Linked DNA regions of Homo sapiens: region 1 is linked to region 2. Evidence: promoter capture Hi-C in 16 types of primary human blood cells and fetal thymus (Javierre and others, 2016). All regions are on one chromosome and are shown on one strand. The core of a region is centred on a gene start or on the middle of the fragment in contact, and the rest is flanking DNA. Distances in the headings are between cores, read along the strand shown. Region 1 overlaps RFWD3 (ring finger and WD repeat domain 3). Region 2 holds the start of NPIPB15 (nuclear pore complex interacting protein family member B15).

What was found. The method cuts DNA at HindIII sites, captures the fragments that hold promoters and counts their contacts. A CHiCAGO score of 5 or more calls a contact.
Region 1: a contact is called between a fragment that was not itself captured here and the fragment with the promoter of NPIPB15 in region 2, in 1 of 17 cell types (total CD8 T cells). The highest score is 5.8, in total CD8 T cells.

What each region holds. Positions count from the first base shown.
Region 1 is chr16:74,643,213-74,650,338 of GRCh38, reverse strand. RFWD3 (ring finger and WD repeat domain 3) reads left to right here. Exons shown (of 13, transcript NM_018124.4): 4 at 1,137-1,207; 5 at 5,604-5,798; 6 at 5,886-5,977. Among named protein-coding and RNA genes, the nearest start is that of RFWD3, 20 kb to the left of the region's middle. The HindIII fragment of the contact is 4,265 bases long and covers 2,037-6,301 here.
Region 2 is chr16:74,370,621-74,377,652 of GRCh38, reverse strand. NPIPB15 (nuclear pore complex interacting protein family member B15) reads right to left here and starts at 1,347. Exons shown (of 8, transcript NM_001306094.2): 1 at 307-1,347. The HindIII fragment of the contact is 9,807 bases long and covers 1-5,414 here.

The DNA.
Region 1 (7,126 bases), core at 2,920-5,419, 270 kb before region 2:
AAGACTGTTTTCTAACAACCAGTTTGCATAGTTTGTAGAAACGGGGGTGGAGGAACAAGATAAATAATACCTCAGAGATGTAATCATTTAAATTAAAAATGTAGAACAGTCTACAAATGGAACATCTTTCTAGACCTAAATATATATGGAAATTTAACATATTGTGAAGGGAATATCTCAAATCAGTGGGGACAATTTTTAATGTTTTATGTAACAGTAAACCAACATAGTTTATGATTCCACTTACATAAAATGTCCAGAAAAGGCAAGTCTACAGAGATAATATTAGTGGTTGCCCAGGGCTGCAGATGCAAATGTGGATTGACTCTAAATGGGCATAAAGGATCTTTGTGGGCTGATAGAAATATTTTAAATTGGGTTATGGTGGTGGTTGCACAATGCTCAATTTATTATATATAAAAGTTAATTTCATGAAGAAGCAGTCAGCCAAATCCAGGATGTGTAGGACATTTCATTAGACAAATGACCTGACAAATCAATGACAAACAGAGGGGAAAAAAATGGGTGAGGGGGAATTGTAATAAAATGAAAAAGACTTAAGAGACATCACAAGCTCATTATGGAGACTTTTTTTGGATTCTGATTGCAATAAATCTGCAAAGAGCAGCTTTAAAACTATTGGGAAATTTTGAATATGAACTGGATGCCTGGATATTTAGTGGTATTGGAGGATTATTGTTAATATTGTTAGGTATAATAATTACACAGTGTTTATATAAAAAAAGAATTCTTATCAGTGTTGCAGAAGTTTTTGCAAGTATAATGACATTTTAAGGTTTGTTAAGTATTCCAACCAAAAGAAAATAATGGAATGGGGGCTTAGGTGGAACAAGATTGGCAAAATATTGATTATTTTTTAAATTGAGTGATGGGTACTTGTGGCTTAACTATACTGTTCTGTGTACTTTTATGTATGTTTGAGAATATTCAAACTAAATTTTTAAAAATAAATTCACTGATGGTACCTGGGGAAGTTGTCATCCTTTTTGCAGGAACACTGTCAGTTAGAAATGGGAAGCTGTAGTGAGTCAGGCTCTCTCCTGCTAGCTTCTCATACCTGACATATCTTATTTTGTATTTTACCTCTCCTGTCATTTCTGGAAATGACTTGGCAGAGCAACTAGCAGGTGTCTCAGCAGAGCAAGAAGTTACATGTATCGATGGAGGCAAGACCCTCCCCAAACAGGTAATATGAACATCATTTTAAAAAAATCTATTTATTTATTTATTTATTTTTAGAGACTAGGTCTCACTCTCACCCAGGCTAGAGTGCAGTGGTGCAGTCATAACTCACTGCAGTTTCAAACTCCTGGGCTCAAAGGATCCTCCCACTTCAGCCTCCTGAATAGCTGGAACTACAGGTAATGCCACCACACTCGGCTACATTTTTTATTTTTTGTAGACAGAGTCTCACTATATTACCCAGTTGGTTTCGAACTCCTGGGCTCAAGGTATCGTCCTGCCTCGGCCTCCCAAACCATTGAGATTGTAGTCATGAGCCACCATGCCCAACCTGAATATCCCCTTTTTTTTCTTTTTTTTTGAGACGGAGTCTCACTCTGTTGCCCAGGGTGGAGTGCGGTGGTGCGATCTCAGCTCACCACAATAACCTCTGCCTCCCGTGTTTAAGCAATTCTCCTACCTCAGCCTCCCGAGCAGCTGGGACTACAGGCACACGCCACCCCGCCCAGCTAATTTTTGTCTTTTAAGTTAGAGACGGGGTTTCACCATACTGGCCAGGCTGGTCTCAAACTCCTGACCTTGTGATCCACCCACCTCGGCCTCCCAAAGTGCTGGGATTATAGGTGTGAGCCACCGTTCCTGGCCTCTGAATATCCTTTTAAATAAAAGGTTTGGGTTTTTGGCTGGGCACGGTGGCTTACACCTGTAATCCCAGCACTTTGGGAGGCCAAGGCGGGTGGATCACCTGAAGTAGGGAGTTTGAGACCAGCCTGGCCAACATGGTGAAACCTAGTCTCTAACCAAAGTGGGGCTGCAGGTTAAAATGGGAAGCTTGCAGGCTTTGTAGGCAAGAGGTCCAGGTGTGGATCCTATCCCAGTTACTCATTATTTGTGTGACTGCTGTCTCTTAGATTTAAAAATGGGGAGGGAGGAGTATTGAGGATAACCTGTCCTGTCTAGCCAACAAGGTTAAGTATCAGTTGAAAAAATAGACATAAATGTGCTTTATAAATTATTAAGCACATTCGCCAGGTGTGGTGGCATGCGCCTATAGTCCTAGCTACTTAGGGAGTCTGAGACAGGATTACTTGAGCCTGGGAGGTCAAGGCTTCAGTGAGCCATGATTGCACCACTGCACTCCATGGCAGCAGAGTGAGACCCTGTCTCAATAAAAAAATTAAAATTAAAAAAAAATCAGGCAGAATATGGTTAGTAGGTGATAATTTTTATTTTTAAAAATAATGGGCTGGGCGCGGTGGCCCATGCCTATAATCCCAGCACTGTTGGAGGCCAAGGCGGGCGGATCACCTGAGGTCAGGAGTTCAAGACCAGCCTGGCCAACATGGCGAAACCCCATCCCTAGTAAAAATGCAAAGATTAGCTGGGTATGTTGGCAGGCGCATATAATCCCAGCTACTCAGGAGGCTGAGATAGGAGAATCGCTTGAACCTGGGAGGCAGAAGTTGCAGTGAGCCCAAATAGCGTCACTGCGCTCTAGCTTGGGAGACGGAGCACGACTTCATCTCAAAGAATAGTAATAATAATGTTGGCCGGGCGCAGTGGCTCACACCTGTAATCCCAGCACTGTGGGAAGTCAAGGTGGGTGAGTCACCTGAGCACAGGAGTTTGAGACCAGCCTGGCCAACAGGGTGAAACCCCATCTCTACTAAAAATACAAAAATTAGCCGGATATGGTGGTGCGTGCCTATAGTCCCAGCTACTCGGGAAGCTGAGGCAGGAGAGTCACTTGAATCTGAGAGGCGGAGGTTGTGGTGAGCCGAGATTGTGCCATTGCACTCCAGCCTGGGTAACAGACCAAGACTCCATGTCAAAAAAAAAATAAAAATAACACCTATACATCATTGTCCTCAGTATGAGTAATTTACATCTGCTGTGAATTCTTCCAATGTCAAAACATCATTTAACATTTTTTGCATATTTCTATGTGCTCTTTGTGTTTTTATTTGAGTCTGGCTCATTTTTCCCAGCTTAGTACATCTTGGAGAGCTTTCTGTTATCAGTACATAAAATTGAATCTTTTTTTTTTTTTGAGACGAGTGTCGCTCTGTCACCCAGGCTGGAGTGCAGTGGCATGATCTCGGCTCACTGCAGGCTCCGCCTCCCAGGTTCACACCATTCTCCTGCCTCAGCCTCCCGGTAGCTGGGACTACAGGCGCCTGCCACCACACCTGGCTAATTTTGTTGTTGTTGTTGTTGTTGTTGTTGTTGTTGAGACGGGGTTTCACCGTGTTAGCCAGGATGGTCTTGATCTCCTGACCTGGTGATCCGCCCGCTTCGGGCTCCCAAAGTGCTGGGATTACAGGCGTGAGCCACCATGCCTGGTCTCATCTTGTTCTTATTAATAGCTACGTGGCATTCCATCATACAAATAAATTTTGAGTTAATTCTTTTCTTTCCACCTCCTGAGTTCAAGCGATTCCCCTGCCTCAGTCTCCCGAGTAGCTGGAACTACAGGCACACGCCGTCATGCCTGGCTAATTTTTTGTATTTTAGTAGAGACGAGGTTTCACCATGTCAGCCAGGATGGTCTCGATCTCCTGACTTCATGATCCGCCTGCCTTGGCCTCCCAAAGTGCTAGGATTACAGGTGTGAGCCACTGCGCCCAGCGAATTAATTCTTTTTCTTATCATGTAAAGCATGGTTGGTGTATGGTGGCACACGCCTGTGTTGTCTCAACTACTTGGGAGGGTAATAATATTTTTTTTCTTTATATAAATCATGCTACACTGAACTTTTTTGAGACAGGGTCTCATTCTGTCCCTCATGCTGGAGTGCAGTGGCACAATCATAGCTCACTGCAGCCTCAATATCCCGGGCTCAGGTGATGCTTCTACCTCAGCCTCCTGACTACTTGGGACTGCAGGCATGTGCCACCACACATGGCTAATTTTTTAAATTTTTAACAGGGACAAGGTCTTGCTATGTTGTCCAGTCTGGTTTCAAACTCCTGAGCTCAAGGAATCCTCCTGCCTTGGCCTCCCAATAAGCTGGGACTGTAGGTGTGATTACTACACCTGGCCTGCTTGGAACAATCTTATATAATTATCTTAGAATATATTTGTGACTGGCTGGGCATGGTGGCTCACGTCTGTAATCCCTGCACTTTGGGAGGCCAAGGCGGACGGATCGCGAGGTCAGGAGATCGAGACCATCCTAACTAACACGGTGAAACCCCGTCTCTACTAAAAATACACAAAATCGGGCTTGGTGGCAGGCGCCTGTAGTCCCAGCTACTCAGGAGGCTGAGGCAAGAGAATGGTGTGAACCCAGGAGGCGGAACTTGCAGTGAGCCGAGATTCTGCCGCTACACTCCAGCCTGGGCGACAGAGCGAGAGTCTGTCTCAAAAAAAAAAAAAAAAAAAAAAAAAGAAAATATTTGTGACTATGATCATGGGCTGCATAATAGTTCAGTCTATGACAGACCACATGTATGATGGTTGTCCCATTAGATGATAATACCAGGCTGGGCGCAGTGGCTCACACTTATAATCCCAGCACTTTGGGAGACCAAGGCGGGCGGATCACTTGAGGTCAGGAGTTCGGGACCAGCCCGGCCAACATGGTGAAACCCACCACTGTGCTACAGTTGCCTACAGTATTTGGTACAGTAACATCCTATACAGGTTTGTTGTCTAAGTATGTAATAGTTTACACCGTCTAGGTTTATTTAAGTACCTCTGGGATCATTCAATGACGAAATCGCCTAAAGACGCATTTCTCAGAATGTATTCCCATTGTCAAGCAATGCATGACTATATATCCATGAGGTATCTCTAGCAGAGAGATTGCTATGCCAAAGGAAAGATATATGTGTTTTAATTTTCATGGATAATGCCAAATGGTGCTCCAGAAATGTGTGCCACTTTACATTTAAGGCAACAGTATATAAGCATGTCCATATCTCATTTACCCACAACAGTGCTTGGTGTCATCAGACATCAATTTATACCAGTCTGATAGATGAAAAATGGTCTCTTTAATTTGCATTTCTTTAATTATAAGCAAACACTTATTGACCATTGTGTTTTCTTGTAAGCATTTGTATCCTTTGTTTTCTTTTTTTGCCCTCTGGTACACATGAGTTAAATATTTTATAGCTGCTATTCTTTATATGGATAGCTGCTTTTCTTCCTTTGAGTGAAGGAAAAAGTATCCAAGAATTTTATAAGATTTAAGAGTAGTATAGTTTTCATAGCTTATATTTTGTGACATTGCATTCTAGAAAGAATGACAAGTGATTCATAGGTGTTACAAGTGTTCTGTAGCCCTTTTGATTGTATCATTTTTTTTGCACTTCTGTTAATTTCTTAGTTGCACATCTTCTTCAAGATTGATTTTACATTTTCTCTAATTTGAATATATTCTGCTTTCCATCTAGCCATCTCCCCAGAAGTCTGAGCCTCTGCTACCTTCTGCTTCTATGGATGAGGAAGAAGGGGACACTTGTACAATATGTCTGGAACAGTGGACCAATGCTGGGGACCACCGGCTCTCAGCATTACGCTGTGGGCATCTCTTTGGGTATAGGTGCATTTCCACGTGGCTTAAAGGACAAGTACGAAAATGTCCCCAGGTAAGGACCATAGGTAAGGACACATTAACATGTTAAGTCAGGCAGATTCCTAGAACCACTCTAATTATGTCCTATTGGGTTCTTTAGTGCAACAAGAAAGCCAGGCACAGTGACATTGTCGTCCTTTATGCCCGAACCCTGAGAGCTTTGGACACTAGTGAACAGGAGCGCATGAAAAGGTAGGTGGTAAGAGTATGCCTGGCTGGAATGTTCCCTTTTGGTTCATTGTAGGCACATCTGAAAAAGAAGTTATGAGTCACTCGTAGTGAGGTTTTACTTGACCTGTGACTTGGGATCTCTGGGGATCATTGGCAGTCTGTCTTACACTGTTATTTATAATTCATGTCTGATCATCTTCTTAAGGAAGTCTGCATCGTTTGCCTTATGTAGAGCATTAAACACAAGGATCTGGCACATTACTTCTGTTGCCATTTTTGCTTCTCATATCCCTGACCACCCCCCGCCACAGCAGTTCTCCATACAGAAAACTCATAAGTGAAGCTTTGCACATGCAGTGCAATGTAAAAAATTACCAGGATTTCGGAAGCACAAAACAGTTGCTAGGGCCGGGCATGGTGGCTCACGCCTGTAATCCCAGCACTTTGGGAGGCCAAGGTGGGCAGATCACAAGGTCAGGAGATCAAGACCATCCTGGCTAACACGGTGAAACCCCGTCTCTACTAAAAAATACAAAAAAATTAGCCGGGCATAGTGGCGGACGCCTGTAATCCCAGCTACTGAGGAGGCTGAGACAGGAGAATGGCGTGAACCCGTGAGGCAGAGCTTGCAGTGAGCCGAAATTGCACCACTGCACTCCAGCCTGGGCGACAGAGCAAGACTCCGTCTCAAAAAAAAAAAAAAAAAAAAAAAACAGTTGCTAGTAACACCACTCAGTATATGCTTCAAAAATATTAAAGAACATACACACCATTGAGAGAGAGGTACAGTGACATGGGTTCACACTTTACTGGTTTGGATGTACACAGGCAAAATCATTTTGAGACATCCTTGGAAATGTGTCTCTAAAGCCTTTGATCTAGTAATTGTTCAGGCATTCTAAAGAAACATTGAAGGCTGTGTACCAAGATTTACTTAATGAAACTTCATTTAGCATTGTTAAAAATCTAAGGCAAGGGGATTGCTTAGTTGAATGAACGGTGGTGTATGCATGAACAGAATACAATGTTGAAATGTGCATATGTTGTCCTGTGGAAGCATGTTATTAGTATGATTGCATTTTTGTGAACTAGAAAAAAAGTAAGGCTGGTGCGGTGGCTCACTCTTGTAATCCCAGCACTTTGGGAGGCCAAGGCAAAAGGATTGCTTAA
Region 2 (7,032 bases), core at 98-2,597:
GGTTTAGCTACAGGTCACGGAGAAGATCAGGGAAGCAACAGGACACGTGGGGCAAGGGAGCGTGAGGCTTAGGAGCAATTAGAGGGAGACAAAAAGGTTCTGCTATCCACCAAACCTTCTTCGGTCTGGGCCCTCCCTTAGCAACCCTGGGGCTTTATACTCCCTCTCCACCAATCCCTGATGACCCCGGTGGTGCCTCACAATGGACAATGCCAAGTAGCGCCCGCATCATTCCAATGACCCCTCCCCCATCTCAGTCTCCCACACTCCTCGCAAGGACAGGTCCTCTCTGGAACCTTCACAAACCTGATTTCTGGTCCTCCCCAACCAGCTCCCTGTCCCTGCTTCTGGGCTCTCCTTCCTTCCTGAGCTCCCAGGGTTCCTCAAGGTCACTTTTGGCGACAAAACATAAAAAACAAATGATGGCAGGATGGCAGGAAGAACTTCATACCCAAGCAGAGTGCCAGGTTTTACAGCCTCCGCTCAGCCATTCATATCCTAAGCAACAAAACATCAGCAGGATGCGGAAGGTCCCGATAGTAAACCATCTCCATCACATCCATGTAGCCATCCGTCCATCAACCTGTATCTCAGGAACAAATGTAGATACATTCATTTTAAGCATGCATGGTACATTTACAAAAATTAACCTGACTTATTTTGTTCCAGCAAATCTCAATATATTTGAGAGCAATCAAATCACACAGCATGTTTCTGATCATATAACTGTGCTAGAAGTCAATGATTAAAAGCTAATTCAAAATTATTATTTGCTTGGAAATTCAAAGTGCCCTTATAAGACATAAACATAAGAAAGAATCCAAAATGAAACAAGATTGCCTTTCAACTCAATGATGAGATCATAACATGGCAATAAAATGTCTCCCCCTGGCCTGGGAATTCCTCTTTGTGGCACAAGGTTGTGTGATCTCAAATCACCCCTAACCCACCTAGACATTTTAACATCTGAAACCGAGTGATGATGTCCTTATCTATAATCATCTTACTGCCTGTGTGTGTGGACTTTAAATTCTGAACCCAAATGAGGGGGAGAAAACCAAGTTGACCTTCATCATTGACCTCTCAGGGACGTCCAAGGAATCTGTGCATTTCAAGAAACAAAGTTCATCAGCTTCTCTCCTAAGGTATTTGCCCACAATACCCAGAGGGCTTGGCAGCATCATGTGTGATGGGTGGGGAGCTCCAAGCAGGTGGGCAGGACCCAGGGGTCTGGTGACCAGGACAGACCCCCACTGTCCATCACCTTTCCTGGCCCTGTCCTCAGCTGAACTTCCCACAGGCCTTCTGCCCGATCACACAGAGTGTGCCCAAACTCACTCAGGCCTCTGGCAGCTGAAAACCACTGCTTTAAATCCCTTTACCATTTACTATGACATAAGGTTATTGTAAACAGGAAATATTCTATTGATGCTACAAATGGAAAGCCAATGCCTTTACCATAAATAGAAAAACAACCCTAAGAAACAAGCAAAACAAAAACAAAACAGGGGCTGGGTGTGGTGGCTCACGCCTGTAATCCCAGCACTTTGGGAGGCCGAGGTGGGTGGATCACAAGGTCAGGAGTTCCAGACCAGCCTGGCCAATATGGTGAAACCCTGTCTCTAATAAAATACAAAAATTAGCCGGGTGTGGTGGTGGGCGCCTTAGTCCCACCTACTTGGGAGGCTGAGGCAGGAGAATAGTTTGAACCCGGGAGGCAGAGTCTGCAGTGAGCCGAGATTGCACCACTGCACTCCAGCCTAGGCGACAGAGCGAGACTCAGTCTCAAAAACAGCAACAACTACAAACAAACAAAAAACAGGGTTAACAAAACTATGGAATTCAATTCTATTTATATGCTGCAGCCATGTTCCAGCCCTAGATTTGGCTGGGCATGGTGGCTCACGCCTGTAATCCCAGCACTTTGGGAGGCTGAGGCAGGCGGATCACGAGGTTAGGAGTTCGAGATCAGCCTGACCAACATGGTGAAACCCCGTCTCTACTAAAAATACAAAAATTAGCCAGGCACGGTGGCACCCGCCTGTAATCCCAGCTACTCAGGAGGCTGAGGCAGGACAATCCCTTGAACCCAGGAGGTGGAGGTTGCAGTGAGCCGAGATCGTGCCATTGCACTCCAGCCTGGGTGACAGAATGGAATGAGACTCTGTCTCAAAAAAAAAGAAGCCCTCGGATTTCGGTTGTGTTGGTTGTAAAAGGAGAGACCAAGTAAGTGGGGGTTGAAGTCAGATTAGACCAAAAGTGAATGGCAGAGAGTACTATAATGTCCATGAAGGGTTGCTAGAGTCACCGTGATCATAGCCCAAGCAGAGACAGGGAAAGGAAGATGTGAGCAGAGTTTGGGGCCTCAAACATTGGAGGTTACTCGTGCAGCCCAGGAAAGGCTCCCCAAAGCCAGGATCAACCTCCCTTGCAGGCGGTCCCTCATGGAGGCATGGCCAGGCACCTTAGATTTGAGACCAGCTGTGTTGCTGCTGACCAGCTGTGTGACCCTGGGCTGGTTTCCTTGCGTACAATGGGAGTGCCAATGGCTGCATGCATGCAAAGACCATCTGAGGATAGGAGGAAGCAATCTGTTGAGCACCCGTGTACCTGAGTGTCATCACCTCCCAAAGGCATCCTTCGTTCCAGAGCTGGCACCTTGGAAGGCCCTTGGTTACTAAATGCAGTGATGATGGTAACAGCAGTAAATCATCATTTACGGCTGATGACGGAAGGCCAGGGGGTAGGGCTCCTAGGTCCTGGATAAGAATGAGGGTCTGGGCACTTCTGGGGACAGCTGAGTGGTAGAACTCCTGGGTCTCCAGGGGGCAGGTCCATCTTCAGTGGCATTGGGCCTAGGCTGGGATGCTGAGTTATCCACTGGAGCATCAGCAGTACAGGCAGGCACAGAGGCAGTGGATCCATCGGAGGTGGCAGGTGTAGGATCATCTGGTGAGCAAGTAGAGTCACCAAGCCTGGCTTCTAGATATAAGAGAAGTTCCTGGGCCGGGTGCCACGGCTCAAGCCTGTAATCCCAGCACTTTGGGAGGCCGAGGCGGGTGGATCACGAGGTCAGGAGATCGAGACCATCCTGGCTAACACGGTGAAACCCCGTCTCTACTAAAACTACAGAAAAATTAGCCGGGCGTGGTAGCAGGCACCTGTAGTCGTAGCTACTCGGCAGGCTGAGGCAGGAGAATGGCGTGAACTCGGGAAGCGGAGCTGGCAGTGAGCCGAGATTGCGCCACTGCACTCCAGCCTGGGCGACAGAGGGAGACTCCGTTTCAAAAAAAAAAAAAAAAAAAAAAAACCAAAACAAAACCAAAAAAAGAATGTTCCAGAAAATTGCCATTTATTTATCTAATAGGTACTGTTAAGCTAGAATATTTGAATTTTGAAGAAAATAGTAGCCGAGCATGGTGGTGGGCACCCATGATTCCAGCTCCTTGGGAGGCTAAAGCAGAAGCATCACTTGACCCCAGGAATTCAAGACCAGCATGGGCAACATAGCGAGACCCTGTCTTTAAAAACTTTTTTTTTTTTTTTTGAGACAGAGTTAGCTCTTGTTGCCCAGGTTGGAATGCAGTGGCGTGATCTCAGTTCTGATCTCAGAGGCGGGCGGATCACAAGGTTTGGAGTTCGAGACCAGCCTGACCAATATGGTGAAACCCAGTCTCTACTAAACATACAAAAATTAGCGGGGCATGGTGGTGCATGCCTGTAATCCCAGCTACTCAGGAGGCTGAGGCAGGAGAATCACTTCAACCCGGGAGGCGGAGGTTGCAGTGAGCCAAGATCGCACCACTGCACTCCAGCCTGGGCGACAGACTGAGGCTCCATCTCAAAAAAAAAAAAAGATTGTTCTCGAAGTCAGGGCTGACAACCCTCTCAACCACAGCAGCGGTGGTAGGGACAGAGAGGTCCGAACAGAGGAGAGGCACTGAGGAGACAGACCCTTTGAGGCTGGGTGATGAGCAGGAGGTGGAGGGAGAGGCGAGTGGGGAGACCAGGTGAGTCCCAGGTTTCTGGTGTGGTTGGCCATTCCTGGAACTGGAAATAGAAGGGGCTGATTGAGAAGACAGGATGAAGACACTGTTGTAGACGTGAGCCTACGGGGTTCCCAGATGTAGCTGCTCCAGAATTAGTTGGATAAGCAGAATAAGACCATTGACTTGCAAGACTGCAGTGAGTGAAGATTTCCTTAAGAAGGCGTAGGCCCTGATTTCACCATTCTTATATAATTGCACTATCAGACAGCCTTTATTTGAGCTGCAAAAAAGGCTACCTAGTAAACCAGCCCAAAACTCAGTGCCTTACAACAAAGCATTCAGTGCCATGCTCATGAGACTGTAGGTGACTATGGTCTAGCTGGACAGCTGTGTTTCAAACTGAGAGTCAGTAGGCTTGGACAGCTTTGTTTCAAACTGAGGGTCAGCAGGCTTGGACAGCTTTGTTTCAGGCTGAGGGTCAGCAGGCTTGGCTTCAGGCTGAGTTCAGGTCTGTTTCAAGTGCCTTTCACTTTCCATGATCCAACAGCTACTCAGGGCATAAACTTGTGACAAGGGCTGATGACATGCTCAACACCTCTTAAGGCCAATCTCCAGATCTGTACACTATGGCTTCTACCCACCTTAAAAAATAAGTTTGGTTGGCCAGGTGCAATGGCTCACGCCTGTAATCCCAGCACGTTGGGAGGCCAAGGCGGGCGGATCACAAGGTCAAGAGATTGAGGCCATCCTGGCCAACATGGTGAAACCCTGTCTCAACTAAAAAAAATTTATATATACAAAAATTAGCTGGGTGTGGTGGCGTGCTCCTGTAGTACCAGCTAATCGGGAGGCTGAGGCAGAAGAATTGCTTGAACCCAGGAGGCAGAGGTTGCAGTGAGCCGAGATCGTGCCACTGCACTCCAGCCTAGCGACAGAGCAAGACTCCATCTCAAAATAATAATAATAATGTTTGACTGAAGCCAACCAACATCAGTGGGACAGGAATCCTACTCCCCCCATTTCGTGCACTGCAAGGTCACATGGCAATAGGGAATGAGGAATTGAAAACAACATCCCATCTACCATAGCTAGCTGCGTTCCTTCCTGTTACACTGCCTGCTTTTTTCTGTCTCTGTATCCAGCCCTTACATCACCCAGTCTCAGATGCTTTCCTGGCCACCTGTCCTATGGCATAGTGCAAAGATCATTAGATTCAGATATTCAACATGGGAAGAGCTCCATTTCTGGTCCTTCCTCCTAGGTGTGTGATCTTGGAAAAGTCATGTTACATCTGTGTCTACTCTATCTGCTAAAATTTACTTCATGAGATTGCCAGAAAGATTACGTGAGCTGATACAGAAGGAAAAATTTTGTCCTATGTATTTTCATTAAGACCCAGTGCAAGTCTTCCCTCTTAAAAAAGCTTTAAATGACTACCATTTCTTCCCAGGACTCTTAGTTAACATCCGGTGGCTTCTAGATATAAGAGAAGTTCCTGGGCCGGGTGCCGCGGCCCACGCCTGTAATCCCAGCACTTTGGGAGGCTGAGGCAGGCAGATCACGAGGTCAGGAGATCGAGACCATCCTGGCTAACACGGTGAAACCCCATCTCTACTAAAAATACAAAAAAATTAGCCGGGCATAGTGGTGGGCGCCTGTAGTCCCAGCTACTCGGGAGGCTGAGGCAGGAGAATGGCATGAACCCAGGAGACGGAGCTTGCAGCGAGCCGAGATGGTGCCACTGCACTCCAGCCTGGGTGACTGAGCGAGACTCCGTCTCAAAAAAAAAAAAAGAGAGAGAAGTTCCAGGCCGGGTGTAGTGGCTCATGCCTGTAATCCCAACACTCTGGGAGGCCGAGGCGAGCGGATCACAAGGTCAGGAGATCGAGACCATCCTGGCCAACATAGTGAAACCCCATCTCTATTAAAAATACAAAATTTAGCTGGGTGTGGTGGCACACGCCTGTAATCCCAGCTACTCAGGAGGCAGAGGCAGGAGAATCCCTTGAACCAGGGAGTTGGAGGTTGCAGTGAGCCGAGATCGCACTACAGCAGTCTAGCCTGGCGACACAGTGAGACTCCGTCTCAAAAAAAAAAAAGAAGTTCCTGGCTGGGCGCAGTGGATCAAGAGATCGAGACCATCCTGGCCAACATGGTGAAACCCTGTCTCTACTAAAAATACAAAAATTAGCTGGGCATGGTGGCATGCGCCTGTAGTCCCAGCTGCTCGGGAGGCTGATGCAGGAGAATGGCGTGAACCCGGGAGGCAGAGCTTGCAGTGAGCCAAGATCGCGCCACCGTACTCCAGCCTGGGTGACAAAGCAAGACTCTGTCTCACAAAAAAAAAAAAAAAAAAAAAAAGTACTGATTGTTACTCGCAACATTCTTCTCTTCCCATGGTGTGAATGAGAACATCCCTGCTTTCCACACAAACACAGGCTCTCAAGCACACGAGAAGCATGCCAGGTGTCAGGTCCTTTCTGTGAAGTCGGTTGTAGGCAGATGTCCAGTCTACTGATGGCGACAAGAACTTCAGAGGGAGGAGGGAGGCCTTCCCCACAGCCATGCCGGTGCTGGAGGGAGGTAAGATAAACGCCTGCATCTTAGCGACCTCAGATCCAAATTCATTCTTACACTGTGGTAACATAGGTATGTCAAATGTTTGTCTGTACACTGTTTATCCTGTGTGGTAGCAAACACATTTACCAAGTCACTGCAGATGAATATTTCACAAGAGGACTTGACAAGCGTAATTAAAACGTCTGTTTAGGGCAGGACGTGGTGGCTCATGCCTCTAATCCCAGCACATTGGGAGGCCAAGGCAGGTGGATCTCTTGAGGTCAGGAGTTTAATGCCAGCCTCAGCAACATAGTGAAACCCCACCTCTACCAAAAAATACAAAAGTTAGCTGGGGACGGTGGAACACGCCTGAGGTCTCAGCTATTCGGGAGGCTGAGGTGGGAGAATCGCTAGAGCCCAGGAAGTTAAGACTGCAGTGAGCCGTGATTGCACCACTGTGCTCCAGCCTGGGTGACAGAGTGAG